Regions from separate parts of the Homo sapiens genome. Here region 1 is linked to region 2. The links are contacts of gene promoters, found by promoter capture Hi-C in blood cells and fetal thymus (Javierre and others, 2016). All regions are on one chromosome and are shown on one strand. The core of a region is centred on a gene start or on the middle of the fragment in contact, and the rest is flanking DNA. Distances in the headings are between cores, read along the strand shown.

Evidence for each region. The method cuts DNA at HindIII sites, captures the fragments that hold promoters and counts their contacts. A CHiCAGO score of 5 or more calls a contact.
Region 1: a fragment that was not itself captured here is called in contact with the fragment with the promoter of B3GNT7 in region 2 in 2 of 17 cell types (erythroblasts and M2 macrophages); the score reaches 5.9 in erythroblasts.

What each region holds. Positions count from the first base shown.
Region 1 is chr2:231,222,270-231,226,810 of GRCh38, forward strand. It overlaps ARMC9 (armadillo repeat containing 9), which reads left to right. Exons shown (of 25, transcript NM_001352754.2): 6 at 459-551; 7 at 4,505-4,529. Among named protein-coding and RNA genes, the nearest start is that of ARMC9, 26 kb to the left of the region's middle. RefSeq lists an enhancer at 171-470. The HindIII fragment of the contact is 1,670 bases long and covers 2,457-4,126 here.
Region 2 is chr2:231,392,644-231,397,164 of GRCh38, forward strand. B3GNT7 (UDP-GlcNAc:betaGal beta-1,3-N-acetylglucosaminyltransferase 7) reads left to right here and starts at 3,067. Exons shown (of 2, transcript NM_145236.3): 1 at 3,067-3,171. The coding sequence starts at 3,161. RefSeq lists enhancers at 1-105, 689-1,271, 1,272-1,853, 2,149-2,198, 4,467-4,521 and a silencer at 2,749-3,218. The HindIII fragment of the contact is 8,411 bases long and covers 2,482-4,521 here.

The sequences.
Region 1 (4,541 bases), core at 2,042-4,541, 170 kb before region 2:
AAAATAGCTTCTGTCCTTTTTTCTTATCTAGACGAGGTTTGTGGAAATGAGTCCCTTTCTTGGGGAGACTCTCAGTAACTTAGTGATAATTGTTTATGTTACGCCTCCCAGTGCTGTGCGTGCCTAGACTGTACTGAACTATTTTTGGTATGCAGCCTAATAAGGTTCCTTGTCACGACTGTGTTTAAATCACATGAAATACTCAAATCATGTTCAGGGTTATTTTTTCCCTGTTTATGAAAGAACTCTATTTTTTCTTCCTACTGTGGGCACTTGAATCTTCTGTAAATGAGTTGGTCAGATGTCCTAAGACCTGTTTTTCACAGCCTCACGTCACTGGCATTTTGGTTTTGGTTTCAATCACTGTGCAGGGTTTTTTAGCCTAATGACCTCAACTTGATGATGCTATTGGTACTTAGTAATCTAATGTTTGTATTTTTGTTCCCTTTTTTCTTTAGGATTCCTGGACTCCAGAGTTAAAGTTGAAGTTGATAAAGTTTCTAGCTTTAATATCTAAAGCCAGCAACACGCCAAAGCTTTTAACAATATATGTATCCTTTTGAAGCAAATAGAGACCACCTATGGTTTTAGAGCAGATTTTATTTAGAGTTGCACGCTGGCTTAGGTTTATTGAGGTTGCCTCATTAAATCGGGATAATTAATAGTGTTGCTTTCATATTTACAAGGTCAATGAATCATTAATGGCAGGGCCTATAGAGATCAACTTCTATATCATTGGATCTCTGAGACTTTCTTTTTGGCAAGGTCTTATTTTGATGTCACGTGGCTAGAAGTTGTCTTGGTAGAAAAGAAAGTTTACCTTCTTGTAAAAGAATTCCTTGGGATAATTGTCCCTTTGCAGAATGTCACTTAACCACTTTTAAGCCCTTCAGGCCATGGCATATGGATCGGGTGACCATCTAACTTGTCATTCAAATTGGGACTTCTTTTTAAATAACTTTATTGAGGTGTAAATTTACATACCATAAAATCTACCCATGGTAAGTGTACAATTTAATGCTTTTTGGCAAACGTACAGAGCTGTGCAGTATCACCACAGTCCAGTTCAAACTGGGACACTTTTGAAAGTAAAAAGGGGCACTAACTGGACAAAGTACCAGGGTGACAGGTGTAAATAGAGCCTGTTTCAGAAAGAGCAGAACGTTAGGTCACCCAACCCATGGAAGACTAATTTCCCAAAGGTTATTAGTTTTTAAAGACAAGTATCTCCTTTTACTTGGAATAAAAATGTATCCAAAGTTATTTCATAACAAGAACATAATGTTTTGAATGGTAAAATTGGTCACTGTTTAGTTTAATTTCATGAAAAATTTAGGCTACTTTGCTGCGTAATACCTTCTGCTTCCTTTCTAACTCCAAAGCATTTGACTTTCTTGACCTAATTGAGGTTTTATTTGTCACTAGGACTCCATGCCACATTTCTACTTGAGCTTCCTAAGCCTTCCCTGTTGCCTGTATTCAAATTCCTTAGCCTGGCCTGAGCCGAACGGACTGATCTACAGCTCTCGTCTCTGCCTTTATATCCTTAAGGCTTTTGTTTAAATTCTTCTGTTTGCCTACATACCACGATGTTTGCATATCCAAACCTTTTCCTTCCTAGAGTTCCATATACAGTGATTTTCAGTGAAACTAGAACTTTTCCAACTTGACTTATAATTATTTGAATACGCTTTAAAAAAGCATTTCTCAGCTTAATTTTTTTTTTTCTTGATACTGCTCCTTGTGGAACAGGGCTACCCCATAGGCAGTGTGCCCAGAGTAGCTCAGCTTAATAATTATGGGTGCCAATATGTTAAGAATCTAATCAAAATGATTTACATGGTAAATTATATTAGTTATATTAAAAATATATTAGTATACTCAAAACAGTACCTGACTGGGCCCCGTGGCTCACGCCTGTAATCCCAGCACTTTGGGAGGCTAAGGCGGGAGGATCACTTGAGCCCAGGAGTTTGAGCCCAGAGTGGGCAACATGGCGAAACCCCATCTCTGCAAAAAGTACAAAAAGTTAGCTGAGCATGGTAGCATCCATATGACTATAGTCCCAGCTATCTGGGGGAGACAGGTGGGCGAATCACCTGAGCCCAGGAAGTTGAGGCTGCATTGAGCTGTGTATTCTGCCATTGAACTTCAGCCTGGGCAACATAGTGAGACCCTGTCTCAAAAAAATAAGAATAAAAAAAGATCATAGTACCTATTTTATAGGAAGAGTATGAAGATTGAGTTAATACATATAACTTGTATGAAACAGTCCAGTATATAGTAAGTGCTTGATAACTGTTAGCTGTTGGCATTAGAATTTTTAAGTACTTGTCACCTTTCATCCTGTTCCACATGCTTTGAAGCATATGCTGAAATATAGCAGGTAACTATAAATAACATTCTAATATTTTCCTTGTTACATGAAAATACTTGTAGTTCAGTTCAATACATTAAGCTTCTACTATGAGTCAAATATTGTTCTAGGATTTAGGGATATAAAGAAAAGGCCAAGATGTAATTCTCTTAGCCAAACTGGAGCTTTGAACAATAAAATAGGAGTCTGTGAGGCAAACAGAGGAGGGATGGGAATTACAGGTAGAGGGAACAGCCTGTGCAAAGGCACTGAGACAGTGCCTGGGAAACTGAAATAATTTAATATTACTGGAGCAGAGTATTGGCATAGACAAACTCAGAGACTAGGCAGGGCCTAGGTCATAAAGGTTTATGCCAAGTCCTATAAGGAATAAGGAGCCTTTGAAGCATTTTAAGTAAGAGAATAACAGTTGTATTTGCAAAAAATAACTTTTTACTTCCTGATTATAAAATCAACTATATTCCTTATAGAAAATTTGGAAAGTACAGAAAGGTTTTTAATACAGACATACACCCAAATTGTAATAAAGGTAGGTACATGTATGTGTGTGTATATTTCTATGCATTTTTATCAAAGGAAGAGAACATCTTCCCATATCATTAAATAGCCTTCAAAAGCAGGTTAAGTTCCCTCAGAGGTTTAAACGTAGAGTTACCACATGACCCAGGAATTGGTCCAGGCTGTACACCCAAGAGCTATATACCCTAGCTATATACCCAAGAGAAATGAAACATACATATGTCCACAAAACAACCTGTACACAAATGTTCATAGTAACATTATTCATAATAGCCAAAAAAATGCAAACAACTCAAATGTCTATCATCTTATGAATGGATAAACAAACTGTGGTGTTATCCAAATGATGGAATATCGTTTGATATCATCCAGCCATAAAAAGGAATGAAGCACTGATTCATGCTGTAACATGAATGATCCTTGAAAGCATTATGCTAACTGAAAGAAGCCAGTGGCAGGGACCAGGTATTATATGACTCTATTCATAAAATGTCCAAAAGAGGCAAATCTGGAGAGACAGAAAGTATATTAGTGGTTGCCAGGGGCTGGGGAGAGCAGGGAAAATGGGAGTAACTGCCAGTGAATACAGGGTTTCTTTTGGAGGATGATGAAAATGTTCTAAAATTGATTGTAGTGATGGTTGCATAACTCTGAAAATACTGAAAACCATTGAAATGTACACATTGATTGATGATTGATTGATTGATTGAGTCAGAATTTTGCTCTTGTCACCCATGCTGGAGTGAAATGGCGTGATCTTGGCTCACTGCAACCTCCGCCTCCCAGGTTCAAGCGATTCTCCTGCCTCAGCCTCCCAAGTAACTGGGATTACAGGCACCCACTACCAAACCTGGCTGATTTTTGCATTTTTAGCAGAGACAGGGTTTTGCCATGTTGGCCAGGCTGGTCTCAAACTCCTGATCTCAGGTAATCCACCCGCCTCAGCCTCCCAAATTGCTGGGATTACAGGCGTGAGCCACCACACTGGCCTGAAAGGTACACTTTAAATAGGTGAATTATACAGTACGTGAATAAAGCTATTACCAAAATACTAAGGAAAAGTTTAAGACAAATTAAGGGAAAAGAAACATGTTAAGTAACTGTCTTCAGTCATGCAGCCAGACGTGTGGGAACTGAGATTTGAACCCAGGCAGTCTGGCTCCAGAGTCTGTGGTCTTAGCAATACTGTGCTATGCTGTTTTCACCTCAATATCAATTTCCTTAGGATAAAGCTTTGAATTGAAGTTAGAGTTGAATTATGTATAAAATCAGATTTGCATTTTTAGTTGGCTTGGTAGCAGTGGGGAAGGCCTTTGGAAGGGGATAGGAAGGGGATAGGAGGCTGTTGAAATAGTGCAAGACTTGAATTCAGACAGTGATAATTGAAATGGGGAGAAGAGGACTTGCCTTCTTCTGAAATGGGAGTGGGTCAGGCCAGTATGGAGAAGTTGCTTAGCTATTTACAGCAACAGTTGGAGCTGGCCCTCCCGGCTCCGAGAATTCTGTTTCATCATGCTGAGGTGCTTTCTCACATTGGCCACAGGATGTCCGATACCCCAAGTACCGTTCCCTGAATGCCTGTTTTCCTGAACTTCTTTTTCATCCCAGAAGGAGAATGGACAAAGTAACAAAGGTAAATCATCTA
Region 2 (4,521 bases), core at 1,817-4,316:
CCCCACGATGGCCACCTCTCTGCAAGGCACGCAAGACTCCTCACCTTCTGCTTTGGGGGTCCCTCTGACCCAAGTTGGCCCCCACCTTGTCCAGTCAAGCCACTGACCCAGTGTGTTTTCTGGCCAGTCAGATACTCCCACCCTTGGGTCTCTGCAGCCCTCGCCTCTGGGCAAAGGCCTGTGCTGGGGTTACCAGCAGGGTCGGATTCCAACCTATTCTGGAAGGTTGAAGGGGTGGGATATAAAAGAAAGTGGAGGTGGAGGTAGGGATGGGCTGAGGGGCCAAAAGATGTACTGGGGAAGGGGGCATTTCTTGGGGTCCTCCAACGTCCTGGCTCACGAGCTTCCCCCTCCAAGGGAGCAACCTGAGGTGCACAGAGTGGCCTTGTGACAAGGACACAGAACCCACCTCCACCTTGGCTTGGGACTCCTGCAGCCTATGCAGCCAGCTCATCCGTCACCCACCCTCTTCTCCTGGTATCTGCCACTCTGGAACTTCCCTCTACCTCTGGGCTCTGCCTTCAGCCAGGGTTGGGGACAGCAGGTAGGCAGATCCCATCGCAGACAGGCCTGCCTTCCTCAGGGCCTCGCTTAAATCCACAGGAATCTGCTGGGGCTCTGCCCTCTGGCTGGGGCAGGTGGAACTGGCCAGATTGGCGGTGGGGGGACCACTGTGCTTGCCATAGGGACTGGCCCAGCTGCCCCACAGGGGAGCACATTGGAGTAACAGGGGAGGCTGACCCGAGCCTGGCCCGGCTCCACACTCCCCACCCCCACCCCACCATCAGGGACTCGCATTTAATTGTCATTCATTTCCCCTCTCTGAATTCAAACTAGGCACAGATCAAATGATTCCATGATGACAAACTGCCTGTCTCAACTGACCAGATTCCACTGGCAAACACTCCGCTGACCTTGGGCAGCTCCCTCTGCTCCCACCTCCTCTGGCCCTTGTGCTTCTGGGGCTTTGTGGAGTAGCTGGACATCAATGATAACACTAACAGTAGCCGGCCTGCCACCAAGTTCTTTACATAGGGGATGCCTATGTCTGTGCTTCATTGGCGTCATCTCACAAGGCCCTGAGCTGGCAGGAAATTGAGGTCTCAAGGGGAAAAGCCACCTGCCCCCAGTGACAACCAGGAAGTGCAAGACTCTGACCCAACGCCCATGCCTGCCATCCCCAAACATGGGCTCAAAACCCCCTTCCCAGGGACGGCTGTGTCCACCCCTCAGCAGGAGGAGGAGACCCCACAGCACCGGGTGAGAGGTCAGTGCTGAAGCCAGGGAGGCAGCTCTCAGCAGGGCACCTGTGTGGAGCCAGGGAAGCCAGGGCCACACTTGCAGGGTGAAGTGGGGAACTCGGAAGGCTGGGCAGTGGAGCAAAATGCTTGGTGCCCTGCGGGAACCGGTGGCCAAGGCTACACTGGGATGAAGGGAGCCGTGGAGCTGCAGAATCTGCGGGTGGCCCTCAGTGGCAGGCAGCCAGGCCAACAGGGGCTTTGGGCTGCAGGTCAGCCCCTCCCCTGCTCTGGAACTTTTGGAGGGCCATTACAAAGGACATCAGCCCCAAGATACTCCTCTGAAATTCTGCCTGAAAGGCCCTTCACATTCCCTAATTGGCACTTACAACATTCCAGAACATTCTATGGTACCTTAAGTTTCTCCTCCCCCTCCAAAGGGCCCTTGAACCTTAAGGATAGGGCAGAAGGGGCTCCTCACCCTGGCCTCGAGGGCTTAAGATCCAGCTGAGGACTCCTAGCCTCCCTGTGTGCTGGGCAGGAAAGTAGCTCCATGTCACTGCTGTCCCTGGGAAAGGAAAAAAGGTTGAGGAAGGGCTCAGAGCCAGCCTTCAGACCAGGCAGGAAGGGTTCAGAGCCAGCCTTCAGGCCATGCAGGCCTCCTGGATGTGCTTACTAACTCTGGGCTCGCTGTTCTCTGAGCTGGCTGGGAGTTCCCCTCTGCACCCCCGTTTCCTCCCCTGTAAGGTGGGAATAATAGCGTATGTCTCTAGGATTAAGTGAGCCAGTCATGCATGGGCCGAGAACCAGGTTTGGCATATTGTAGCTGCTCAGTGGACGTTAGCTGTTATGATTGGACCACAACGTGCTTCCGTTTCAATTCTGTGGGCCTTTTGGAGGTCCTGCTGGATGCTAAGCACCGAAACCTCAACCCGGAACAAGACCAGAACAACCTGAGCAACAACAGGACCAGCGATGGCTCTCCCTGCTGGAGGATTCTGGAAGTCACCTGGCTGGACCAAGCCCTCTCCGTGTTCTCTGTCAGCCCACTCCCCAGAGCCGCTAGGCCTGATGTGCACAAGCAGACTAATAAAGGCTTGAGGACAAAAAGGGTTTTGAGTGATAAGTGAAAAAAGAAAGGAGATAGGGCTGGGCCAACAGGCCTTCCCTTGGTGGTGGGGAGCCCTCAGAGGTGGGAGGAACCCCAGAGGTGAAGAGAGGGACATGGTGGGGGCACAAAAAAAGCTTCCAGAGCCACAGGCCTGGGCGAGTCCTGACATGGAGCCCAGTCTCATACGGCCTCTTTCCCTAGTGGCTGGCTTTGCTCCTGGCCCTAGGTAGCCCAACAGCTGGGCAAGGGGTCCGTCTGGTCAGGGGAAAGGTGCAGGGGCAGAAGGTAGCAGAGGGAGAAAAGGACACCCTGTCTGCCTCTGGCCCCAAAGACAAGTCCGAATGGGGCCAGAGGGAAATGGCTGGGCCTTGGGGTGCCCCAGGGTCTTGGAGGGGACCGGGTGTTCAGGTTTCGCACAAGTACAGGAGGGACCGGCGACCGCCCTCCCCCCGCCCCGGGAGGCTCCGCCAGGGACAGGCGTCCCCGGGATTGGAGGTGACCCCCGTGGGTTCCGAAGCCCCGCCTCGGCCATGCACTGTCTACTAGGCGCGCTTGGGGAGCCTAGGGGCCGTCTCGGAGAAATGGGGTGGTCCCCGCCAGGCGGCGGCGGGGCGGGCCCTGGGCGCCGAAGGGGTTAAGGCACCTGGGCCACCGCCCCTGCCGGCCCCTCCTCCCGCGGCCGGGAAGAGGAAAGTCGCGGCGGGGGCGCGGCCCGGTCTCCGTCCCCACCCGCCCGCCGTCCCGCCGGCCCGAGCCGTGGCGCCCAGAGCTGCGAGCCGCTCGCCCCTCCGCCGCTCCGGCCCGGGCCGCCATGTCGCTGTGGTGAGTGGGGCTGGGGGCCGTCGGGGGCCTGGGCGGGGGCGTGGGCCCGGGGCTCCCCCTCCTCCGTGGCCACAGACGGGCGCCGGGACTCCCGGGATAGGAGATGCCCCCGCGCGCGCCGCGCCGGCCTCAGTTTCCCGGGGGCGGATGGGCGGGCGGGCGCGGCGGCGGCGGCGGGAGATGTTCGCGGTACGCGGCCCCGGACCCGTGGGGGACGTCGAGGGGTCTCGGGGCGCCGCGCTCAGCTCCCCGGCCCCGCGGCCCTGGACACCGCTCCAGGACCCTGGCGGCTGGGACCCCAGGTCTTGCCGGCAGCTGGGTCCCCTCTCCCTTCCAGACCCCTGAGGGCCCCCTGCGTCCGGGCCACTCTCCTCCTCTCGGGGCTTCCTTCCGCGGGACCTCGGACCGCCGCCCGCCCGGCCCCTCTCCGCCCCTCCCGGGCTTTCCCTACGAATGGAGCGGACCCGGCAGGTGGAGCGCCCGCAGCCCAGGGCCTCGCCGCCTTCCCGGTGCACCCCCCGACCTCCCCCGTCCCGGCCTCGGTGGGCGGCTTCCCTGGAACCCCTAGGGCTGGCAGGGCCGGATCCGGAGCCCTCCGTTTCCTCCCCGGAGAGCTGGACCTTGGGTCACACCCCCCAGCCTGCACCTAAGGTGCCCCTGTCTTCCTCCAACCACATGCCCCAGCAACCTGGGGACCCTATGGGGAAAATGTCGCTCTATGGGGCTCAGCCTGCATTCACCCTGGGGCCTGGACCTGCAACCGGACCAGCCCTCAGGGCAACCCAGGCGTCTCCACGGGCTGCCTGTCTCTCCTGGCACCCTGCTCCTCCCCCTTGGAGGTCAGCGCCATCTCTCTGCTAGGCTGGCCCTGGAAGGCCACTCTGCTGTCCCCAGAGCTCTCAGCCCCCAGGTCTCCACTGGGGAGGGTGGGGCAGGTGTCCTGGCAGCCCCCGGAGGGTGAGATGAAGAGAGGAGGTCCTTCAGGACAGGGGCTCAGGCCCCAGGGCTTGGGACGACCAGCACTCCTGGCAGAGAGCTCTAATTTCTGCTTCCGAAATGGGTGTGGACCGGGGTTGGGGTGGGGGGGTCTCTGGGCAAGAAGGGTCCCTCAAGGGCTGGAGCTGCAAATGTGCCCCCTCCCAGGGAGTAGAGCTGTAGCCTCATGTCTTCTAATGGGGTGTTATGAGCTGGGGATGTTAAGGTAGGGGTGAGGGGCAGTGCCATGCTAGAGGTGCTCACTGCATCCTTGGGCCTCCATCAACCATGAGGGCTGCTCTTTGTTGGGTGAGACAGACTGGAGAAGGGGGAGGAGGGCCAGTCTTCCTCAGGTCCCAAGCTCGAGCCACTCTC